Regions from separate parts of the Homo sapiens genome. Here regions 2, 3 and 4 are each linked to region 1. The links are contacts of gene promoters, found by promoter capture Hi-C in blood cells and fetal thymus (Javierre and others, 2016). All regions are on one chromosome and are shown on one strand. The core of a region is centred on a gene start or on the middle of the fragment in contact, and the rest is flanking DNA. Distances in the headings are between cores, read along the strand shown.

What was found. The method cuts DNA at HindIII sites, captures the fragments that hold promoters and counts their contacts. A CHiCAGO score of 5 or more calls a contact.
Region 2: a fragment that was not itself captured here is called in contact with the fragment with the promoter of RHO in region 1 in 4 of 17 cell types (M1 macrophages, M2 macrophages, M0 macrophages and 1 more); the score reaches 6.1 in M1 macrophages.
Region 3: a fragment that was not itself captured here is called in contact with the fragment with the promoter of RHO in region 1 in 3 of 17 cell types (erythroblasts, M2 macrophages and M1 macrophages); the score reaches 6.1 in erythroblasts.
Region 4: a contact is called between a fragment that was not itself captured here and the fragment with the promoter of RHO in region 1, in 3 of 17 cell types (erythroblasts, total CD8 T cells and endothelial precursors). The highest score is 6.1, in erythroblasts.

The regions. Positions count from the first base shown.
Region 1 is chr3:129,524,588-129,530,721 of GRCh38, forward strand. It overlaps RHO (rhodopsin), which reads left to right and starts at 4,052. Exons shown (of 5, transcript NM_000539.3): 1 at 4,052-4,507. The coding sequence starts at 4,147. RefSeq lists a silencer at 1,605-1,805 and enhancers at 4,003-4,728, 4,729-5,454. The HindIII fragment of the contact is 8,320 bases long and covers 2,483-6,134 here.
Region 2 is chr3:129,875,827-129,881,960 of GRCh38, forward strand. TMCC1 (transmembrane and coiled-coil domain family 1) reads right to left here. Exons shown (of 7, transcript NM_001017395.5): 2 at 4,483-4,733. Among named protein-coding and RNA genes, the nearest start is that of TMCC1, 15 kb to the right of the region's middle. The HindIII fragment of the contact is 886 bases long and covers 3,085-3,970 here.
Region 3 is chr3:129,837,296-129,843,429 of GRCh38, forward strand. The region is part of intron 2 of TMCC1 (transmembrane and coiled-coil domain family 1); the gene reads right to left. Among named protein-coding and RNA genes, the nearest start is that of TMCC1, 53 kb to the right of the region's middle. The HindIII fragment of the contact is 2,949 bases long and covers 1,820-4,768 here.
Region 4 is chr3:129,808,359-129,814,492 of GRCh38, forward strand. All of the region lies in intron 4 of TMCC1 (transmembrane and coiled-coil domain family 1), which reads right to left. Among named protein-coding and RNA genes, the nearest start is that of TMCC1, 82 kb to the right of the region's middle. The HindIII fragment of the contact is 375 bases long and covers 2,360-2,734 here.

The DNA.
Region 1 (6,134 bases), core at 2,802-5,301:
TTAGCCAGGCATGGTGGCACACACCAATGGTCCCAGCTACTCAGGGGTTGAGGTGGTGGACCGCTTGAGCCCAGGAGGTTGAGGCTGCAGTGAGCCATGATCATGCCGCTGCACTCCAACCTGAGTCACAGAGTGATACCCTGTCTCAAAAAACAATAGGCCAGGTGTGGTGGCTCACGCCTGTAACCCCAGCACTTTGGGAGGCCGAGGCGGATGGATCACTTGAGATCAGGAGTTAGAGACCAGCCTGGCTAACATGGCAAAATCCTGTCTGTACTAAAAATATAAAAATTAGCCAGGCATGGCAGTACATGCCTGTAGTCCTGGTTACTTGGGAGGCTAAGGCAGGAGAATCGCTTGAACCCAGGAAGAGGAGGTTGCAGTGAGCCAAGATCACACCACTGCACTCCAGCTTGGGTGACAGAGTGAGACCCTGTCTCAAAACAGCTAAACCTGGTGGGGGTGCCTGGTGTGTAGGATGGTCAGGGGTGGTCTCTCCAAGGACATGAGTGTGAGCGGAGACCTGAAGGAGACTCAGGAAGAGATTAATACTGTCAGCAACAAATATATTGATCACTTACAAGCACTCCCAATAATCCTATTAGGTAGGCACTATTATCATTCCCATTTTACAGAGTGGAGAACCGAAGCACACTCTCGGGAGGGCGGGGTAGCTGGCTGCACCCAGGCTGTGTAGCCTCAGTCCAGATGTAAGGGTGGGTGGAAAAGAGCCTTGCCCAATGAGGGAGAACAGTGAAACCAAGGCCATAGGGTCTAAAGATTCACGAACCAGGCTCTCATGGAGAAAGCAGGTGAGGTTTACTGTATAGATGGGTGTGCCCCTACCCCACACTGAGGCTTCCTCGTCTGAGCAAACTGAGGCCCAGAGAGGGGAAGGAAGCAGGACTACCATGGTGACTCAAAGACCAGCTAGAATCCAGCCTCCTCTCCTCGAGGCTTCCACTGCCCCACGCCAGGCCTGTGTGACTCAGTCTAGGGCCTTTCCATTACCCCAGCTAAACCTTTCTTTAGTCATTTATACCATGGTGTGAATGGCTGGCTGGTCTTTCCTGAGAGCTATCTTTGATGAGGGGAGGGAGGCATAGCCAGGTTTGGGAAGCTGATACCCCAGGAAGCCCAGTTGACTGTGTGGGTTATAGCCCAGGCTGTCACTGATTTGTAACGGGACCTGAGCAACTCTGCAGAGCTAGGCCTCAGTCTTTTCATCTGCAAAATGGATATAGCAGAGATGGTCAGAGTAGGTGACTTCGAATGACCCTTCCAGCTCACTATGAGTCTGTTTTCCTGAACAAAGAGCATTTTTTGTTTAAAAAAAAATTTCTTGGGCCGGACACGGTGGTTCACTCCTATAATCCTGGCACTTTGGGAGGCCGAGGAGGGTGGATCGCTTGAGCCAGGAGTTCAGGACCAGCCTGGGCAACATAGCGAGACTCCACCCCTACAAAAAATACAAAAACTAGTGGTGTGCACTTGTGGTCCCAGCTACTCAGGAGGCTGAGGTGAGAGGATCGCTTGAGCCCAGGAGGCAGAGGCTACAGTGAGCTATGATTGTGGCACTGCACTCCAGCCTGGGCGACAGAGACCTTGTCTCAAAACTTTTTTTTTCTTCGTCAAGCTTTACAGAATAAAGAGCACTGTCACCTCAGTGATGGCTGTTAGTTCCCCATCACCAGGGCTCCATGAGGTTGCAATTGTGAAACTCACAAAGGAGGAACCTGAGACAGAGAGGGGAAGTACTGAGATCATCTAGGTCCATTCCCCCACTCACTCGTTCATTCAACAAATATTCAGGAGCACCTTCTAGGTGCCAGGCCCTGGAGACACATCAGTGAACAAAACAGACATCATCCCACCTCTTTCCACTACAGGCCAAGCACCATGCTGGTCTCTGGGAACCCTGTTGTGAGCAAGACAGACCCAGGCTTACCCTTGTGGACTCATGTTACAGGCAGGGAGACGGGCACAAAACACAAATAAAAAGCTTCCATGCTGTCAGAAGCACTATGCAAAAAGCAAGATGCTGAGGTACTGCTAAGCTGTGTGGGATGGGGGCTCAGCCCGGCCAGGGAGGGGCCAGTTGTGGGTCAGTCTTGACCCAAGGCATCCAGGACACCCTCCTTCTGGCCATGAGGGTCCACGTCAGAATCAAACCCTCACCTTAACCTCATTAGCGTTGGGCATAATCACCAGGCCAAGCGCCTTAAACTACGAGAGGCCCCATCCCACCCGCCCTGCCTTAGCCCTGCCACGTGTGCCAAACGCTGTTAGACCCAACACCACCCAGGCCAGGTAGGGGGCTGGAGCCCAGGTGGGCTGCAGGGAAGGGGGCACTCTTCTGAGCAGACAGATCTGGGAATCCTGGGTGGGAAGAGAGACAGTGAGAGAGAGATTAAGGGATATTTCCCAGGCATCAGGGCTTTGCACTCTCAGGGGTCCTTCCGCCTGGATGTCCTTCCCCTGAAGCTTCCTCCTGTTGTTCCGTTCTCAGCTCAAGCTCCAGCTTCTCAGAGAAGCCTCCTGTGTTGGGAGTGGCTGCGACTGAACTGTCCCTACTGTTATTCGCTCTTCTATTTGTTTGTGGTCCCTGTGCCCCCTCACCCCACAAAAACACTGGCTTCTTGTGAGCAGGAGCTTGCTCTTTCGTGTACCCTGTGTGTCCCCAAGGACCAAGCACCTTGTCTGGGCCACAGTAGGTGCTCAATACACATGTTGGCTGGACAGTGGTCACTGAGCGGCCGCACGTCGGGCACTCTCAGCACTTGCACAGGCCGCCCCAGACACCCCACTTCATTCCTGGGAGGTGTCATCATGTTGCTTGGACGACGGGGAGAGGGGGACCTGCCAGTGTTGGCCTCCATTTTCCCCCAGTCATCTGCCCCCAAGGCTCTGACTACTTTCTTTCTCACGGTACATCCTGCTATTCTGGAATCGGCCCTCGTGGGGCCACCTGGTACATGGCATTTGAGGCCCTCGTGGCTGATTAGGCCTCCCCCAACAGTGCCCTGTCTGCTGCCTCCAGGGCCAGCCTCCCCTTCAGACTGGAGTCCCCTGAAGGGTTCTGCCCCTCCCCTGCTCTGGTAGCCCCCTCCATCCTCCCTCCCTCCACTCCATCTTTGGGGGCATTTGAGTCACCTTTCTACACCAGTGATCTGCCCAAGCCACTGCTCACTTTCCTCTGGATAAAGCCAGGTTCCCCGGCCTAGCGTTCAAGACCCATTACAACTGCCCCCAGCCCAGATCTTCCCCACCTAGCCACCTGGCAAACTGCTCCTTCTCTCAAAGGCCCAAACATGGCCTCCCAGACTGCAACCCCCAGGCAGTCAGGCCCTGTCTCCACAACCTCACAGCCACCCTGGACGGAATCTGCTTCTTCCCACATTTGAGTCCTCCTCAGCCCCTGAGCTCCTCTGGGCAGGGCTGTTTCTTTCCATCTTTGTATTCCCAGGGGCCTGCAAATAAATGTTTAATGAACGAACAAGAGAGTGAATTCCAATTCCATGCAACAAGGATTGGGCTCCTGGGCCCTAGGCTATGTGTCTGGCACCAGAAACGGAAGCTGCAGGTTGCAGCCCCTGCCCTCATGGAGCTCCTCCTGTCAGAGGAGTGTGGGGACTGGATGACTCCAGAGGTAACTTGTGGGGGAACGAACAGGTAAGGGGCTGTGTGACGAGATGAGAGACTGGGAGAATAAACCAGAAAGTCTCTAGCTGTCCAGAGGACATAGCACAGAGGCCCATGGTCCCTATTTCAAACCCAGGCCACCAGACTGAGCTGGGACCTTGGGACAGACAAGTCATGCAGAAGTTAGGGGACCTTCTCCTCCCTTTTCCTGGATCCTGAGTACCTCTCCTCCCTGACCTCAGGCTTCCTCCTAGTGTCACCTTGGCCCCTCTTAGAAGCCAATTAGGCCCTCAGTTTCTGCAGCGGGGATTAATATGATTATGAACACCCCCAATCTCCCAGATGCTGATTCAGCCAGGAGCTTAGGAGGGGGAGGTCACTTTATAAGGGTCTGGGGGGGTCAGAACCCAGAGTCATCCAGCTGGAGCCCTGAGTGGCTGAGCTCAGGCCTTCGCAGCATTCTTGGGTGGGAGCAGCCACGGGTCAGCCACAAGGGCCACAGCCATGAATGGCACAGAAGGCCCTAACTTCTACGTGCCCTTCTCCAATGCGACGGGTGTGGTACGCAGCCCCTTCGAGTACCCACAGTACTACCTGGCTGAGCCATGGCAGTTCTCCATGCTGGCCGCCTACATGTTTCTGCTGATCGTGCTGGGCTTCCCCATCAACTTCCTCACGCTCTACGTCACCGTCCAGCACAAGAAGCTGCGCACGCCTCTCAACTACATCCTGCTCAACCTAGCCGTGGCTGACCTCTTCATGGTCCTAGGTGGCTTCACCAGCACCCTCTACACCTCTCTGCATGGATACTTCGTCTTCGGGCCCACAGGATGCAATTTGGAGGGCTTCTTTGCCACCCTGGGCGGTATGAGCCGGGTGTGGGTGGGGTGTGCAGGAGCCCGGGAGCATGGAGGGGTCTGGGAGAGTCCCGGGCTTGGCGGTGGTGGCTGAGAGGCCTTCTCCCTTCTCCTGTCCTGTCAATGTTATCCAAAGCCCTCATATATTCAGTCAACAAACACCATTCATGGTGATAGCCGGGCTGCTGTTTGTGCAGGGCTGGCACTGAACACTGCCTTGATCTTATTTGGAGCAATATGCGCTTGTCTAATTTCACAGCAAGAAAACTGAGCTGAGGCTCAAAGAAGTCAAGCGCCCTGCTGGGGCGTCACACAGGGACGGGTGCAGAGTTGAGTTGGAAGCCCGCATCTATCTCGGGCCATGTTTGCAGCACCAAGCCTCTGTTTCCCTTGGAGCAGCTGTGCTGAGTCAGACCCAGGCTGGGCACTGAGGGAGAGCTGGGCAAGCCAGACCCCTCCTCTCTGGGGGCCCAAGCTCAGGGTGGGAAGTGGATTTTCCATTCTCCAGTCATTGGGTCTTCCCTGTGCTGGGCAATGGGCTCGGTCCCCTCTGGCATCCTCTGCCTCCCCTCTCAGCCCCTGTCCTCAGGTGCCCCTCCAGCCTCCCTGCCGCGTTCCAAGTCTCCTGGTGTTGAGAACCGCAAGCAGCCGCTCTGAAGCAGTTCCTTTTTGCTTTAGAATAATGTCTTGCATTTAACAGGAAAACAGATGGGGTGCTGCAGGGATAACAGATCCCACTTAACAGAGAGGAAAACTGAGGCAGGGAGAGGGGAAGAGACTCATTTAGGGATGTGGCCAGGCAGCAACAAGAGCCTAGGTCTCCTGGCTGTGATCCAGGAATATCTCTGCTGAGATGCAGGAGGAGACGCTAGAAGCAGCCATTGCAAAGCTGGGTGACGGGGAGAGCTTACCGCCAGCCACAAGCGTCTCTCTGCCAGCCTTGCCCTGTCTCCCCCATGTCCAGGCTGCTGCCTCGGTCCCATTCTCAGGGAATCTCTGGCCATTGTTGGGTGTTTGTTGCATTCAATAATCACAGATCACTCAGTTCTGGCCAGAAGGTGGGTGTGCCACTTACGGGTGGTTGTTCTCTGCAGGGTCAGTCCCAGTTTACAAATATTGTCCCTTTCACTGTTAGGAATGTCCCAGTTTGGTTGATTAACTATATGGCCACTCTCCCTATGGAACTTCATGGGGTGGTGAGCAGGACAGATGTCTGAATTCCATCATTTCCTTCTTCTTCCTCTGGGCAAAACATTGCACATTGCTTCATGGCTCCTAGGAGAGGCCCCCACATGTCCGGGTTATTTCATTTCCCGAGAAGGGAGAGGGAGGAAGGACTGCCAATTCTGGGTTTCCACCACCTCTGCATTCCTTCCCAACAAGGAACTCTGCCCCACATTAGGATGCATTCTTCTGCTAAACACACACACACACACACACACACACAACACACACACACACACACACACACACACACACACAAAACTCCCTACCGGGTTCCCAGTTCAATCCTGACCCCCTGATCTGATTCGTGTCCCTTATGGGCCCAGAGCGCTAAGCAAATAACTTCCCCCATTCCCTGGAATTTCTTTGCCCAGCTCTCCTCAGCGTGTGGTCCCTCTGCCCCTTCCCCCT
Region 2 (6,134 bases), core at 2,278-4,777, 350 kb after region 1:
ACTTTTACCAAAGAATAATAAAATAGGGCCGGTGCCGTGGCTCACGCCCGTAATCCCAGCACTTTGGGAGGCCAAGGCGGGCGGATCACCTGAGATTGGGAGTTTAAAACCAGCCTGACCAACACGGAGAAACCCCGTCTCTATTAAAAATACAAAAAACTAGCTGGGTGTGATGGCACATGCCTGTAATCCCAGCTACCTGGGAGGCTGAGGCAGGAGAATTGCTTGAACCTGGGAGACGGGGTTGCAGTGAGCCGAGATCACACCACTGCACTCCAGCCTGGGGAACAAGAGCAAGATTTCATCTCAAAAAAAAAAAAAAAAAGTTTAAAATATCATTGGTCCTTAAAGTTATACCTTCATTCTTTTGATAATTGCTATGTTGAACACAACCTGCTAACTGCTTTACAATGACTTAAGTAAGCACTAGTGATTTGAACCCAGGTTTAATGCCTGGCTCAAAAAAAAAAAAAAAAAAAAGAATAAATATAAGTGTGAAGAGGTTCTCACAAGCCCCACTGACAGAACAAAGACTATATTTAAAGTGCCTTTCAGCCCTATAACCTAAGAAAGAAGAGTAGCTGACAGCCAATTAGCTCCTAGCCAATCCTTACATTTTTTCTTTTTCATAATAATTGCTAAGGACAATTTTTAAAATCCTGAAGACATGAATCAAAAATAAAGGAGCCAGGTTCAGTGGCTCATGCCTATAATCTCAGCATTTTAGAAGGCTGAGGCAGGAGGATTGCTTGAAGCCAAGAGTTTGAGACCAGCCTGGGCAACATATGCAGACCTCATCTCTACAGAAAAATAAATAAATAAAATTAAAAAAAATAAACCCTGAAGGGCTGGGCGCGGTGGCTCACGCCTGTAATCCCAGCACTTTTGGAGGCTGAGGCGGGAGGATCACAAGGTCAAGAGATCGAGACCATCCTGGCTAACATGGTGAAACTCCGTCTCTACTAAAAATACAAAAAAAAATTAGCCAAGCATGGTGGCAGGCGCCTGTAGTCCCAGCTACTCGGGAGGCTGAGGCAGGAGAATGGTGTGAAACTGGGAGGCGGAGCTTGCAGTGAGCTGAGATCGTGCCACTGCACTCCAGCCTGGACAACAGAGCGAGACTCCATCTCAAAATAAATAAATAAATAAACCCTGAAGATCTCCTCAAAGTAAATTTTCCAATATTACTTTAAATGAATAATTAATAAAGACAGTTGTTAATAATATTACTTACATATCTTAAATCTTCTCCTGCCAAGAACATCTACCCAGAGTTACAGATTTTTATCTGAATACCCAGTCTCATCAGGGTTTAGGAAATGTTTTGCATTTGGAAAGACAACATCTCCAATCAGTCTTTAACCTCCAACCGCTCCACTAAAACTACCCTTTATCAAGGTTACCAATAACTGCCACATTGTTAAATCAAATAGTTAATTCTCAGCCCTCATCTCAATTGTAGTATTTGACACAGTTGATCACTCCCTATTCCTTGAAACACTTTCCTCATTAGACTCCAGGATACCCTCTAACCTAGTTCTCATCTTAACTCTCCAGCCACTGCTACTAAGTCTTCCTTGATGTTTCCTTCTCATCTTCCCCAACTCTAAACTCTGGAAATTAAGTTCTTCAACTGCTTCTTACTTCCATCTCTACTCACTTAATTGGAGATCTCATCCAGCTTTCTGGATTTAAATATAATCTATTTTAACAATACCCAGAGGTATATGTCCAGCAGATCCTTCTCTCCTGAATTCCAGATTCATAAACCCAACTGTTTACTCAACATCCCTAAGTCTTTTTTTTTTTTTTTTTTTTGAGACAGAGAGTCTCACTCTATGACCCAGGCTGGAGTGCAGTGGCGCAATCTTGGCTCATTGCAACCTCCACCTCCCAGGTTCAAGCAATTTTCCTGCCTCAGCCTCCCAAGTAGCTGGAAATACAGGAATGTGCCACCACGCACAACTAATTTTTTGTATTTTTAATAGACATGCGGTTTCACCATGTTAGCCAGGGTGATCTTGATCTCCTGATCTCCTGATCTCATGATCCACCCGCCTCGGCCTCCCAAAGTGCTGGGATTACAGGCGTGAGCCACCGTGACCAGCTTTTTTTTTAATGTTTTTATTTTTATTTTTATTTTTTTTTTGAGACAGAGTTTCGCTCTTTTAGCCCAGGCTGGAGTATAATGGCGCAATCTCGGCTCACTGCAACCTCTACCTCCCAAGTTCAAGTGATTCTCCTGCCTCAGCCTCCCAAGTAGCTGGGATTACGGGCGCCTACCACCATGCCTAGGTAATTTTTTACTTTTTTTTTTAGTAGAGATGGGGTTTCACGACATTCGCCAGGCTGGTCTTGAACTCCTGACCTCAGGTGATCTGCCCGCCTCGGCCTCCCAAAGCACTGGGATTACAGGCGTGAGCCACTGCGCCTGGCCAACATCTCTAAGTCTTAATAGGCATGTTTAATTTATGTCTAAAACTGAGCTTCTGTTACTTCTCCTGCAAACTTGTTTCTCTTTCTTTCAGTCTTCTCCATCTCAATAAATGACAACTGCATTCTTCCAGAAACTCAATACAAAAACCTTAACTCTTTCCTTTCTTTCACAGCACATATCCAATCTATCAGCAAAACCTGCTGACTCTACTTGAAAAATATATCCAGAATCAGATCATGTTACCACAGTCACTGCTACTCTCTAGCACAAACCACATTTTCTCTCACCTTGATTACAGTAATAGGCTCCAAACTAGTATTTCTGCTTTTGTCCTTGCCCAATCCACCACTATCTACTCAGCAGCCAAAGAAATGAAAATGTCAAAATATAAATCAGATCATGTCACCCTGCCCAAACGCTCCAAAGACTTCCTATTTTGCTCAGTGTAAATGCTGAAGTCCTACAAAGACCAGCAGCAGCAGCAGCACCTGGGAGCTTATTAGAATTAGGCCCTACCCCAGACCTATGAAATTAGAGTCTAAATTTTAATAGAAACCCCCAAGGTAATTCATGTGCACATTGAAGTTTGAAAAGCACTTCCATAAAGCACCACAAAATAAGGACCCACCCTCACCATTCCTCAGGCAAGCTTCTGTCTCAGGACATGTACACTGTGATTCACTATGCCTAGAATGCTCTTCTCATATATGTGTATGGCTCACTCCTTCACTTCTTTCAAGCCCTTACTCAAATGTCACCTTCTGTATGAAGCCATCTGTGAACACTCAACCCCTTCCCCTCAATACATTCTATTCCTGCTTTCCTTTTACTTTTCTCTTTAGAATTTGTCATCATAAATTTAAAAATGACATTTATGCATTATTTATTTATTTCAGGCCAGGGATGGTGGCTCATGCCTGTAATCCCTGGATTTTGGGAGGCCGAGGTGGAAGGATCACTTGAGCCCAAGAGTTCGAGACCAGCATGGGCAACATAGCGAGACCCTCATCTCTACAAAAAATAAAAATATTAGCTGATCACAGTGGCATATGCCTGCAGTCCCAGCTACCTGAGACACTGATGCAGGGGACTGTTTGTGCCCAGGAATGTGAGATTGCTGTGAGCTACGACTGCACCCTTGCACTCCAGCCTGGGCAACAGAACAAGACGTTGTCTTAAAAAAAAAGGTTTTCAGAAAGAAAAATTGAGTCTTTGAGTGAAAACAACAGATATACCTATAACTGTCTACAACGCAATAACAATCCTTTACATTGATAAAAATCTTTCATGCAAATTTTCTTATCTGATTCTCAATAACCCCATGAGCTGTGTAAAGCAAGTAATGATAAGCCCATTTTAAAGGTGAGAAAACAAACATACTTTAACTCTCAAAGCATGGAAGTAATAATGTCAAACCTGGGACTGAAGTCTCAATTTTTAGTTCAAAACTCTACAATATCACACCTCCTCTTGCCAATGAAACTGAACCAGACTATGAAATCATACAGCCATAATATTATGCTAACGTTACTAAGCTTTCCTAAACCATCCAGTGTCTATGCAGAATGAGAACAAATTCAGTTTACCCAAGTCACAATTTCAATTTGAGAAATAAGAATGCAAGCTACAGCTGGGCACAGTGGCTCACACCTGTAATCCCAGCACTTTGGGAAGCTGAGGTGGGGGATCACTTGAGCCCAGGAGTTTGAGACCAGCCTGGGCAATACAGCAAGACTCTGTCTCTATTATAAAAAATAAAGATTTAATTTAAAAGAAAAAAATTCAAGCTGCTCCCCGTTACTTGTAAGTCTAATCCCGTGTCTAATAACATTCAGGAAGAATGTAGGAAATGAGCTGTTTCATTATATACATTAAGAAAGTTCTTGTTGAGCTACAGGTGCTAGAAAAAAAGAGAAAATGGGAGAAAGGAAGATGGAACAAGTAAATGAATGAGAACTGAGTTATAGAGAGGAAAGTATAATTATTTTATACTGTTCTGAGTGCCTGGGTGATGTGATTTTGCAGTAGAAGAAAAAACGACATACCTCCTCAAAATCCCAGCAATAGCTTCCCTTTCTTTGCATAGGTGAGGATGAACAGTTGTAATCCAAAAGGTTTCCCAAAAAGTTATTTTTTAAAAAGACATAGAAACAGAAGATCCATATGAAAAAGAGATCCAATCTGGGAGGATGGACACTGTGTCTTCTAAATCTTGTGACCAAAGGCAACTGTTCACCGAGCGTCAGCATCTGAAGAAAGTGCTAACTGTGGATGTGTCTTCTCCAGAGATTAATACCTGCTGGGACAGAGAAGCAAGAAAAGGAGAAAGAACTACTGAATGCAAATGACTGTCTGACAAGCAATGACAGGCTGAGCATCCCAACTTTGAAAGGCCAAAACCCAAAATGCCCCAAAATCTGAAAACTTTTGAGTCCCAACATGATGCTCAAAAGACACACTCATTGGAGCATTTCAGAGTTCAGACTTTCCAACTAGGGATGCTCAACTGATAAGTATAATACAAATATTCCAAAATCTAAAAAAAATCTGAAATACTTCTGGTCTGAAGTATATCAGTTCTCAGGCTGCAAATTTTTTTTCTTTTTTTTTTTTTTTTGAGACAGAGTTTTGCTCTTGTTGCCCAGGCTGGAGTGCAATGGTGCAATCTTGGCTCACTGCAACCTCCACCTCCCAGGTTCAAGCGATTCTCCTGCCTCATCCTCCCAAGTAGCTGGCATAACAGGCGCTTACCACCATGCCAGGCTAATTTTTGTATTTTCAGTAGAGACTGGGTTTCACCATGTTGGCCAGGCTGGTCTTGATCTCCTGACCTCATGATCCCCCTGCCTCGGCCTCCCAAAGTGCTGGGATTACAGGTGTGAGCCACCTGCGCCCAGCCTAAAATTTTTTAAATTAACATTAGTGAACAAAAAGTGATCACATGGAGGTAATACCAGTGACCACGCCCAGCTGGCACTGAGTTATCAATGACAGCAATAAGCAAAAGTACACTTTTGCAGGTAATCCAGCTCTCTCTCTGATAATAGTAAAGAAAATATTAAAATCTATTTCAAGTTTTTTGTAGCAAAATCATGGTCATATCATGCAACGAATCATAGATAAATATTTGTCTGCAGTCTGCCAAACAGAGCAACCATTCTGGCAACTTATAAAACAAATATCATAGAACTACTAATGCAGATGTCCACTCTCAGCAGAAAATGTAGAATAATCATATAAAAAAAACATATGTAGGTTTTGGCAGAGAAACTAAAAGTTGACATGAAAACAAAGGGACATAAATGTTAATATGACATACAGGGTGGTTTGCATACCTTTTTAGCTAACATACAGAACAAGAAATCTGTTATATTTTCGCAACAAATTAAGGCAGTATTTATTGATACCTGCTACATCACTGCATTTCTATCAAACCACAAATTATAGAATATATAAAATGAAATACATTGGATGGAACTAGCAGCAGTCAAGACACAGCAGAAGGAAAGACGAGTGAATGTAAAGACACAGAAATAAAAACTATCCAAAATGAAACCCAAAATATAAGACCAAAGAAAAAGAGCAGAGCATCAGTAAGGTATGGGACAACTTCAAGAACCTAATAATATATATGTAACTGGAATCCGAGGAGCGATGTGTGACTATTTGGAGAAATAATAGCCAAAGATGTTCCAAA
Region 3 (6,134 bases), core at 2,044-4,543, 310 kb after region 1:
TAAAAACAATGGAATACACCTGAGAAAGCTGCAAGACTCAGACTCTCACGGAGAAACAGCACAAAGGGAAAACCCAAAGCCAAGCAGGAAGACAAGAACAAGGTATTACTGGGAAAATTTGAAGCCTCTAGTTCCCATGGCAACAATAAATGTCAACTCCAGTAACCATTGCAATAATAAACATCAAACACAGCCCAATGCCTGAACAGATTAACACAAATCTCCACCCTAAAGGACTTGCAGGAAACTAGCAGTCTTCAGTAAGCATATCAAGCATATACCTCAGTATCTCCTGTCATATACAGCACATTCAGCTTTAAACAAAAATTATGAAGCATGGCAAAGGCAGTAATAAAAACACAGCTCAAAGGGACAAAGCAATTATCAGAGCCAGACCCACGTATGACATAAATTTTGGAACTACAAGACAGTAAATTAGAACGTGATTAATACAGTAAAAACTCTAATGAAAGAGGTAGACAACATATGAGATCAGACAGGTAATTTCAGAGATAAATGAAAATTATAAAAAATCAAGTGGAAACCAAATTAGAAATAAAGACATAGTAATGACAAATGCCTTTGAGAGGCTTATCAAGTAGACTTGAAACAGCTGAAAAAAGAATCAGTAAACTTGAAAATAGGCTAGTAGAAACTACCCAAACTGAAATATAAAGAGAAAAGAGATTTTCCCACCTGGAGAACATACAACAGCTGTGGCAGAAGTCCAGAAGAAGAGACAACAGAGAAGAAACATTTGAATGGCCAAGAACTTACCGAAATTAGTGATAAGACACTAAACTACAGAGTAACAATAAGAAACTCTGAAAACAGGCTGGGCATGGTGCCTCATGCCTATAATCCCAGCACTTTGGAAGGCTGAGGCGGGAGGATGGCTTGAGCCCAGGAGACCAGCCTGGGCAGCATAGGGAGACCTCATCCCTAAAAATAAACAAAAAAATCAGCCGGGAATGATGGCACATGCCTGTGGTCCCAGCTACTTGAGAAGCCTGGGCCCTGGGAGGACTGCTTGGGCCCTGGAGGTCGAGGCTGCAAAGAGCCGTGAGCGTCCCACTGCATTCCAGCCTGGATGACAGGGCAAGACCCTGTCTCAAAAAATAAAAGAAAAAGAAAAAAAGAAAAAGAAACTGAAAATGCCAAACAATACCAAAAAAGGGGGCTGGGCACGGTGGCTCATGCCTGTAATCCAACACTTTGGGAGGCCGAGACGGGCAGATCACAAGGTCAGGAGTTTGAGACCAGCCTGACCAACAGGGTGAAACCCCGTCTCTACTAAAAATACAAAAATTAGCCAGGTGTGGTGGTGCGTGCCTGTAATCCCAGCTACTCAGGAGGCTGAGGCAGGAGAATCACTTGAACCTGGGAGGTGGAGGTTGCAGTGAGCCGAGATCGCGCCAATGCACTCTAGCCTGGGTGACAGAGCAAGACTCTGTCTCAAAAAAAAAAAAAAAAAAAAAAAAAAAGGATATCTAGGCATATCATATTCAAACTGCTGAAAGCCAAAGGCTCTTGAAGGCAGTCAAAGAGGGGAAAATATGTTACATACAGAGGAATAAAGATATAAGATTATAATAAACTTACCATCAGAAACTTCGTAAGACAGTGGAGTGACAACTTTAAAGTGCTGAAAAGAAAACTGCCCATCCAGTATTCTACATCCAGTGAAAATATCCTTCATACGTACAAAATAAAGGCTTTCCTCCAGACAAGCAAAAATAGAGAATTCACTGCCAGGAGACCCATCCTATAAGAAATATTAACAGAAGTCCTTCAGGTAGAAAAATATATAAAAGTGAGAAGCTTGAATCTACAAAATGAAGAATAAATGAAGGTAAAGTATAATTTTTTTATTTTTCATTGCTCTAAAAGATAATTGCTTAAAGCAGTAACAATGTATTGGATAAGTACCCCACAGGTAAAAGTAAAACGCTTAACAACAATGGCAAAAGGGAAAAGAGGGAAGAACTGGGAACACACTATAACCATACTTTAACTAAATGCGAAGTGGCAAAACACCTGAAAAACTCAGGTTATTTTAAAATGTATAATGTAAACAAAAAAGCAACCACTAAAAACCTTTTTAAAGAAATCTAAGTGATAAGTCAATAAAGTAAAATGGAATTAAAAAAAAAATCACACCAAAGAAGGCAGTAGGAAAAAAACCACACAGGCGCATGCCTATAGTCCCAGCTACTCAGGAGGCTGAGGCAGCAGAATTATTTCAGTTCAGAAGTTTAAGACCAGCCTAGGCAACACGGCAAGACCTCTTCTCTACAAAAAAATAGAAAAATTAGCTAGGCATGGTGGCACACACCTATAGTCCCAGCTACTCAAGAGGTAGGAGGATCGCTTGAGCCCAAGAGTTTGAGACCAGCCTGGGCAACATAGTGAGACCCCATATCTACGAAAAATTTAAAAATTCACCAGGCATGGTGGTGTGCACCTGTAGTACCAGCTACTGGGGAGACCGAGGTGAGAGAATCACTTGAGCCCAGGAGGTCCAGGCTACAGTGAACCATAATTATGCCACTGTACTCCAGCCTGGGTGAGAGAGAGACCTTGTCTCAAAAAATAAAAAAAGAAACAAACAACAAATGCAACAAATAGAGAAGAGCTAGCAAGATGGTAGGTTTTCATCTAATTATACTAATAATCACTTTAAATGTAAATAGTCTTACCAGTTAAAAAACAGATTGTCAGACTGGGGGAGAAAAAAAAAAGCAAGACCAGGCCGGGTGTAATGGCTCACACCTGTAATCCCAGCACTTTGGGAGGCTGAGGCAGAAGGATCGCTTGAGCCCAGGAGCCCAAGACTACCCTGGGCAACATGGTGAAACCCTTTCTCTACAAAAATACAAAATATAGCTGGGCATGGTGGCATATGCCTGTAAGTCCAGCTACTTAGGACATTGAGGTGGGAGGATTGATTGAACCCAGGAGGTCAAGGCTGCAATGAGCCATGATCATGCTACTGTACTCCAACCAGGGTGACAGAGTGAGAACCTGTCTCAAAAAAAAAAAAAAAAAAGCAAGATCAAGCTATATTCGGTCCACAAGAAGCCTGCTAAGCAAAGATTTAAAGAGGAAAAAAATAAAACAATGGAGAAAAATATACCATACAAACACTAATTAATCAAAAGAAAGCTACTGTAGCCAAATGAATTGCAGACAAAGTAGATTTCAGAACAAGAAAGATTGTCAAGGATAAAGAGGAGTGATCTGGTTTGGCTCTGTGTCCCTACCCAAATCTCATCTTGAATTGTAATCCACACATGTCAAGGGAGGGACTTGGTGGGAGGCGACTGGATCACGGGGGTGGTTTCCCCCTGTTCTTGTGATAATGAGTTCTCATGAAATCTGATTGTTTAAAAGTATGTGACAGTTCCCCACCCCACTCCTGCTGCCATGTAAGACATGCCTTTCTTCCCCTTCACCTTCTGCGATGATTTTAAGTTTCCTGAGGCCTTCCCAGCCATGTGGGGCTGAGAGTCAAATTAAACCTCTTTTCTTTATAAACTACCCAGTCTCAGGTAGTTTTTTATAGCAGTGTGAAAATGGACTAACCCAGAAAATTGGTACCAGGAATGGGGTACTACTATAGATACCAGAAAATGTGGAGTGACTTTGGAACTGGGTAACAGACAGAGGCTGGAAAAGTTTGGAGGGCTCAGAAGAAGGCAGGAAGATGTGGGAAAGTTTGGAACTTCCTAGAGACTTGTTAGAAGATTTTTACCAAAGTGCTGATTGTGATATGGACAATGAATCCAGGCTGAAGTGGCCCAAGATGGAGATGAGAAACTTATTGTGAACTGGAGCAAAGGTCACTCTTGCTATGCCTTAGCAAACAGACTGGTGGCATTTTGTCCCTGCCCTAGAGATCTGCGGAACTTTGAACTTGAAAGACATGATTTAGAGTATCTGGCAGGAGAAATTTCTAAGCAGCAAAGCATTCAAGATGTGACCTGGCTTTTTCTGAAAGCGTACTGTCAGCCGGGGACAGTGGCTCATGCCTGTAATCCCGGCACTTTGGGAGGCCAAGGCAGGTGGATCACCTGACGTCAGAAGTTCGAGACCAATCTGGCCAATATGGTGAAACTCCGTTTCCACTAAAAATACAAAAATTAGCTGGGCATGGTGGCATACACCTGTAGTCCCAGCTTGGGAGGCTGAGGCAGGAGAATCACTTGAACTGGGAGGCAGAGGTTGCAGTGAGCCAAGATCGTGTCATTGCACTCCAGCCTGGGCAACAGAGTGAGACTCCCTCTCAAAATAATAATAATAATAATGAAAATGTTCATTGTATGTCATATGTGTTCACAAAGAGATAGTCTGAAATTGGAACTTATGTTTAAAAGGGAAGCAGAGCATAAAAGTTTGGAAAATTTGCAGCCTTACCATGTAGTAGAAAAGAAAAACCCATTTTCTGGGGGAGAAATTCAAGCTGCTGTTCTTGTGATAGTGAGTTCTCACAAGATCTGATGGTTTTACAGTGTGTGGCAGTTCTGCCCCCACTCCTGCCACCATGTAAGACGTGACTTACTTTCCCTTCTGCCATGATTATAAGTTTCCTGAGGCCTCCCCAGCCATGCGGCACTGTGAGTCAATTAAACCTCTTTTCTTTATAGATTACCCAGTCTCAGGTAGTTCTTTATAGCATTGTGAAAACAAACTAATACAAGGGGTATTATAATAGGGTCAGTTCCTAAGAAGACATAACAATTCTAAATGTGTATGTACCTTAAAACAAAGCTTCAAAATACATGAGGCAAAACTGATAGGTATGACAGAAAATAAAGACAAATTACAATTATAGTAGACTTTTATTAACAGTTAACCCTTAGTAATTGATAAACCAAGTAAGCAGATTGGCCAGGCATAGTGGCTCACCGTGGTAATCTCAGCACTTTAGGAGGCTGGGGTGGGCAGATCACTTGAGGCTAGGAGTTCAAGACCAGCCTGGCCTACATGGCAAAACCCTGTTTCTACCAAAACTACCAAAATTAGCTGGGCTTGGTGACATGCACCTGTAGTCCCAGCTACTCAGGAGACTGAGGCACGGGAATCACTGCAACTTGGGAGGTAGAAGTTGCAGTGAGCAGAGATCGTGCCACTGTATTCCAGCCTGGGTGATACAGCGAGACTTTGTCTAAAAAAAAACAAAACACACACACACACACACACACACACACGTAAGCAGATAGATGTGACCTCAACAGTTCAGTACTATCACCTAATTTGACCTGAGTGACATTTGTAGGGCACTCCACTGAACAACAGCTGAATATACATTCTTTTCAAGTACACATAGGACATTCACAAAGATATACCATATTCTGTGCCATAAAAGAAATCTTCAAGATAAATAAAAATACAAAGTACATTCTCAGACCATAATAGAATAAAACTAAAATCAATAACAAAATATATTAGGAAAGTGCCTCCAAATATGTGGATATTAAACAATACACTTCTAAATAACCCATGATTAAAAGATGAAGTCATAAGGAAATTTTAAAAATATTTGCAAGTATAGCAGGAAACAGAAGGGAAGTTTATCTACCTTAAAAAATACTTGCAAAGTAAACAAAAATACAACATTATCAAAATTTATGAAATGCAGCTAAAACAGTACTTAGAGGAAAATGTATAGTCTTAATTATATCTTATAAAAGAAGACCTAAAACCAACAACCTAGGCTTCTACCTTGGCACAGTAAAAAAAGAACAAATTATAACTAAAACAGAAGGAGGCCAGGTGTGGTGGCTCACGCCTATAATCCCAGCACTTTGGGAGGCTGAGGTGGGCAGATCACGAGGTCAGGAGATCGAGACCATCCCAGCTAACACAGTGAAACCCCATTTGTACTGAAAATACAAAAAAATTAGCCGGGCGTGGTGGCAGGTGCCTGTAGTCCCAGCTACTCAGGAGGCTGAGGCAGGAGAATGCCATGAACCTGGGAGGCGGAGCTTGCAGTGAGCCGAGATCGCACCACTGCACTCCAGCCTAGGAGACACAGCAAGACACCGTCTCAAAAAAAAAAGAAGGAAAAAATAATAAAAATTAGAGCAGAAATCAACAAAACTGACAAAAGAAACACAATGTAGAAAAACCAA
Region 4 (6,134 bases), core at 1,297-3,796, 280 kb after region 1:
GTAATCCTAGCTACTCGGGAGGCTGAGGCAAGAGAATAGCTTGAACCCAGGAGGTGGAGGTTGCAATGAGCCAAGATCACACCACTGAACTCCAGCCTGTGCAACAGAGCAAGACTCCATCTCAAATAATAATAATAATAATAATAAAATTTAAAAAAAAGAAAATAATGAAAGATTTACAGTTCTTTGAGAATTTGGAGAGAACCCAATGACAGTTATAAACAACAAAAATTAAAGCAATTAACTCCAGAGACAGCAAAAAGGTGTATAAAAAGGGAAGTGTAATCATATTATACTACAAAGCTCAAGTTGTAAATATATTTACATTGGCATAATGTAAACAGCATATTGAAATATAACTAAAATTTTAATAAGATATGGATAGGAAAAAGATAATAAGAAAGCTACATGATCATTTTCATTAAAGGAAGTCAAGATATCCAAAACAGAAAAAAAAATAGCAGCATAAGCATGTTATTTAGAAAATATTTAGATAAATTTCAGAATAAAAAATTAAAAGATCAAAAAGTTAAAATAAATTTTACTTGGGTTAGATATGCTGGAAAAAAAAAAAAAAAAACAAAGAAACTTGTTTCTGAGAGCTTAACAAACCTGGAAGATTAGGCCAGGAGCAGTGGCTCACACCTGTAATCCCAGATCACGAGGTCAGGAGATCCTGACCTGGCTAACCATCCTGGCTAACACAGTGAAACCGCATCTCTACTAAAAATACAAAAAGTTAGCTGGGTGTGGTGGCAGGCACCTGTAGTCCCAGCTACTTGGGAGGCTGAGGCAGGAGAGTGGTGTGAACCCAGGAGGTGGAGCTTGCAGTGAGCTGAGATCGCGCCACTGCACTCCAGCCTAGGCGACAGACCAAGATTCCATCTCAAAAAAAAAAAAAAAAAAAAATTCTGGAAGATTATATTAAATAAATCTACAGAAAGTTGTTCACAAAAAATAACATTTAAAATAGAAGATTCACAAGCAAGTAAAATGTTTCATACTCCTAGTGTTGGAAAGCAGATATGACTTTTAAATTCCTGGTTTTAATAATTCTCTGTAAGACTAAGGACACAAACACATATCTGAAATAATATTAACTTCTTAATTTCATTTGTTCCTGTAGCTTACTGTTGGCCTAAAGCCACACAATTCAGCCTTCCTTTGTCAGGATGCATTTCAGAGCTTCCAGCTGTAATTTTTTAAATGGTACTGTAACAATACAGTATTGTGAAGCCACAGACAGTAAATGATAAGAGATACAAACTGACAGGAAGAAAAAAAAAATCTCCAGGGTGCAAAAGAAGAGAGAGAGAGGTAAAGACAGTATTTATAGAAAAACATTTAGTTAAAGTACTGAAATCCTGCAAAAAAGAATAGCTTTTGGTATTTTCCATACTGAACATTAATGCATTTTGCAAACAATTTTCCCGGTTTCAGTAGTAGCCAATTCTTTTTTTACCTCTTTTTAGGTAAATCCCACTAAAACAGTACATTTAATCTTGATGTGACAAAGCAAGTTACTCATCTAAATAAGGACCCTGATTTTATTTAGTTTTACTGATTTTATGTAGAAAAACATTAGAGCTACAAATCCTCATAACAATGAAAACAACATGTGAAAGTCAAACTTGTCTTGAATTTCTGTACTAATCCACACATCTCTGCACCCTAAGGCAACAAAAGATACTGATACAGAACTATGAGCAAAAATCAGGCTGGATGCGGTAGCTCACACCTGTAATCCCAGCACTTTGGGAGGCCAAGGTGGGTGGATGGCTTGAGCTCACAAGTTCAAGACCAGCCTGGGCAACATGGTAAAACCCCATTTCTACAAAAACATACAAAAATTAGCTGGGCATGGTGGCGGGCACGTGTAGTCCCAGCTACTAGGGAGGCTGAGGTGGGAGAATCACTTAAACCCAGGAGGCAGGGGTTGCAGTGAGCCAAGATTGCACCACTGGGCAACAGAGTGAGAGACACTGTCTCCCAAAAAAAACAAAACAAAACTAAGCAAAAATCAAGAGACATATATCACATACTAGTACGCAGAACCAAAACAGGTAATTTATACTGTGGCCTAAATCCTCCTGAACTATAATCGGATCACAAAACCTTTATACTCATTCTCATAAAGCTAAACTCCTGACAATAGAAAACAGCTTGCATTTTATCTTTATGTACAGAAACTTAAGCAAGTTCACCCTATATCTTAAGGCTCAATGGGCAAACATTCCTAAGAAGAATATGTTAATCTCACAAGCATTTATCTGCTTAAACTGAACTTGATTCTATGGTATAACTCATCACAAATTATATAATATAAAGACAATGTATGACATCAACGAATATGGAAGGAAGCTTATCAAAGCAATGTTTCAATTCATAAGCAATCACATTTACAACAACAAAATTAGGTAAATTGTTTCCTTCAGGTGTTTTGCATTTTTATAGAAAATAACAATTCTATGGAGCAGAAAACCTGGATACTGTTCTTTCACCTAGAAGAATGTATAGCTGTGTCTTGAACATCTACAACTGTTGAAACAAGTTTAATGTTATTGGAAAGCCTGTGGTGAGCTTAAGGCAGAAAACAATGTTTAAGGTATTCTAGTCCTATCCTATGGTAAAATGGTTATTTAAATGTGCATTTGCACAGCTGCTTAACATATGAGTTTTTTTAATTAATAAACCAAGAGTATGCTCCCTAAGACTGTGTATGTTCTTCTAAATAAGCTTCTATATCACTAAAATTCTAAAGCGTATTCCTCAGAGCATCCACATGGGGAAGGTTATATTGATCAGTTACTCTGATGCACTACTCCATTGTTAAGCTTACAAAGAAATGCTCAGAAACAAATAGATCAGAATTAGGATGCTCACTTTCATGGCCATTCATTTTATATATTATTTTTAATTTTTTAGAGATAGGATATCACTCTGTTGCCCAGACTGGACTGCAGTGGCACAGTCAACAGCTCCCTGTAACCTCAACTCTTGGCCTCAAGTGATCCTCCTGCCTCAGCCTCCCAAGTAGCTTGGACTACAGGTGTGTGCCACCACACCTGGCTGTTTTTTTTAAAATTTCTTGTAGAGACAGGGGTCTCACTGTGTTGCCCAGGCTGGTCTTGAACTCCTGGCTCCAGTGATCCTCCCACATCAGCCTCCCAAAGTGCTGGGATTAGGGGCATGAGCCACTGTGTCCAACCATTTGAGAAAAGTGATCCTGAGATGGGAATTTTCTCAGCAAATCTTCAATAAATGCAAGACTATGCATTTTTTTAAAAAAGAAATCAAGTTTTGGGCCAGGTGCAGTGGCTCATACCTGTAATCCCAGCACTTTGGGAGGCTGAGGTGGGCAGATCACCTGAGGTCAGGGGTTCGAGCCCAGCCTGGCCAACATGGCGAAACCCTGTCTCTACTAAAAATACAAAACTTAGCTGGGCGTGGTGGCATGCGCCTGTAATCCCAGCTACTCAGGAGGCTCAGGAAGGAGAATCACTTGAACCCAGTAGGCGGAGGTTGCAGTGAGCCCAGGTTGTGCCACTGCACTCCAGCCTGGGTGACAGAGCAAGACTCTGCCTCAATTTAAAAAAAAAAAAAAGAAAGAAAGAAATCAAGTTTTGGTGATTCTTACTATTCAATACTCTTAGATTCATTAGTACAGAAGGGCTTTTACCTTTGTGTTAACAATGAGAAATGGCTGGGCGTGGTGGCTCATGCCTATAATCCCAGCACTTTGGGAGGCCAAGGTGGGCAAATCACCTGAGATCAGGAAATCAAGATCAGCCTGGCCAACACAGTGAAACTCCATCTCTGCTAAATATGCAAAAATTAGCTAGATGTGGTGGCACGCACCTGTAATCCCAGCTTCTTGGGAAGCTGAGGCAGAAGAATCACTTGAATCTGGGAGGTGGAGGGTGCAGTGAGATCACGCCACTGCACTCCAGCCTAGGCAACAGAGCAAGACTCTGTCTCAAAAAAAAAAAAAAAAAAAAAAAGCCAATGAGAAAAAAACAGGGCATTATGTAAAAGAGGAAAGAAGAACACCACAACTATAACAAAGAAACTTAAGCTGGTACTCTGTAGGACTACAATCACATCCACAATACTCAAATCAAATCTCTGGTACTGAGATTTCACTTTTAATACCCCTGTTCAAGATATTTTATTGAAGAAGCTATAAATTTATTGCTGGTTTATCTTCACTGGCTGGATTTCACAAAACAAATACCCGACCTCGCCCCAAAAAAAGAAAAGGTAGAGACACTAAGGTTATTGTTTTTAAGGTGAGATAATTTTAAGCTTAAAAAGATGAGGCATATTTAAGACTTAAATCTAAAATGAAAAACTATAAAAACCTTTGAAGATAACCTAGGAAATACCATCTGGACATAGGACCTGGCAAAGACTTCATAACAAAGATGCCAAAAGCGATTGCAACAAAACCAAAAATAAACAAATGGGACCCAATGAAACTAAAGAGCTTCTGCACAACAGAAGAAACTATCAAAGAGTAAACAGCCTACAGAAGGGGAGAAAATACTTGAAAATACTTGCAAACTATACATCAGATAAAGGTCTAATATTCAGAATCTATAAGGAACTTAAATCAGACAACCCTCATTAAAAAGTGGGCAAACGACATGAACGAACACTTTTCAAAAGATAACATGCATGCAGCAACAGGCTTATGAAAAAATACTCAACATCACTAATCATTAGAGAAATGCAAATCTAAACCACAATAAGATACCATCTCACACCAGTCAGAATGTCTATTATTAAAAAGTCAAAAAATAACAGATGCTGGTGAGGTTGTGGAGAAAAGAGAACACTTACACACTGCCAGTAGGAATGTAAATTAGTCCAGCCATTATGGAAAGCAGTCTGGCGATTTCTCAAATAACTTAAAACAGAATTACCATTTAACCCAGCAATCCTATTATGTATTTTCCCAAAGGAATATAAATAATTATTCCACAAAGACACATGCACATGTATGTTCACTGCAGCACTATTCACAATAGCAAAGACATGGAATCATCCTAAATGCCCATCAATGGTAGACTGGATAAAGAAAATGTGGTACATGTACACCACAGAATACTACACAGCAATAAAAAAATAATGAGATCATGTCCTTACGGAGCTGGAGGCCATTATCCTACACAAACTAACACAGGAACAGAAAACCATATACCTCATGTTCTCACTTAACAAGAGGGAGTTAAACATTTAGTATGGACACAAAGAAGGGAACAACAGACACCAGGGCCTACTTGAGGGTGGAGAGTGGGAGGAGGGTGAGGATCGAAAAACTACCTATTGGGTACTATGCTTATTACCTGGGTAATGAAATAATTTGTACAACAAACCCCCGCAACATGCAGTTTACCTATTTAACAAACCTACCCATGCACTCCTGAACCTAAAATAAAAGTTAAAAAAAAAAAAGATGAAGCTATTCCATTTCTACTGAAGAAGAGATTATTCTTAAGGAAATAGTACTTATATATGTTAAAGGAAATTTAACAATTTGAAAATGTATTTACTAAGTCATCTGTGATAATAAACACTTTAATTGTTCATCCATTCTAAACTTGTCCTTAAGTTCTTTTTCCTTATTTTTTTTTTTTGTATAATAAAGCAGGGTAAGTGATAAAAGTCCACTGTTGGAATAACTATTTATACATTTATTCTCCCAAAGAGTTGAGTTATAGGCTTGCATTTCCTATGTGGAAATGGCTTGACAATCAGAAACCATGAAATTTCTAAAGACATTAGGAGAAGACCTGAGCGTAAGGTTTAGATAAGATGCCAGACAATTTCCCAGTGTACTCCTGAACCAGATCTTCACTCACAGGCTAATTTTCCTGCAGTGTTTTAATTTTAAGTATTCATCCTGTGAATTCCTATTTAAAGTGGCAGAATCTTTGTTTCTAATCTTTTCTTTGTGATCTAACATAAGTTGCCATCTCTTTAAAATAACTTGTTATGTTTGTTGTAAGCCTCATGGTAACCAAAATACAAAAACCTATAACAGATTCACTAAAAATAAAAAGCAATGAATTAACATACTACCAGAGAAAATCACTTAACCACAAAGACAATAGTAAAAAAGGGATGAAAAG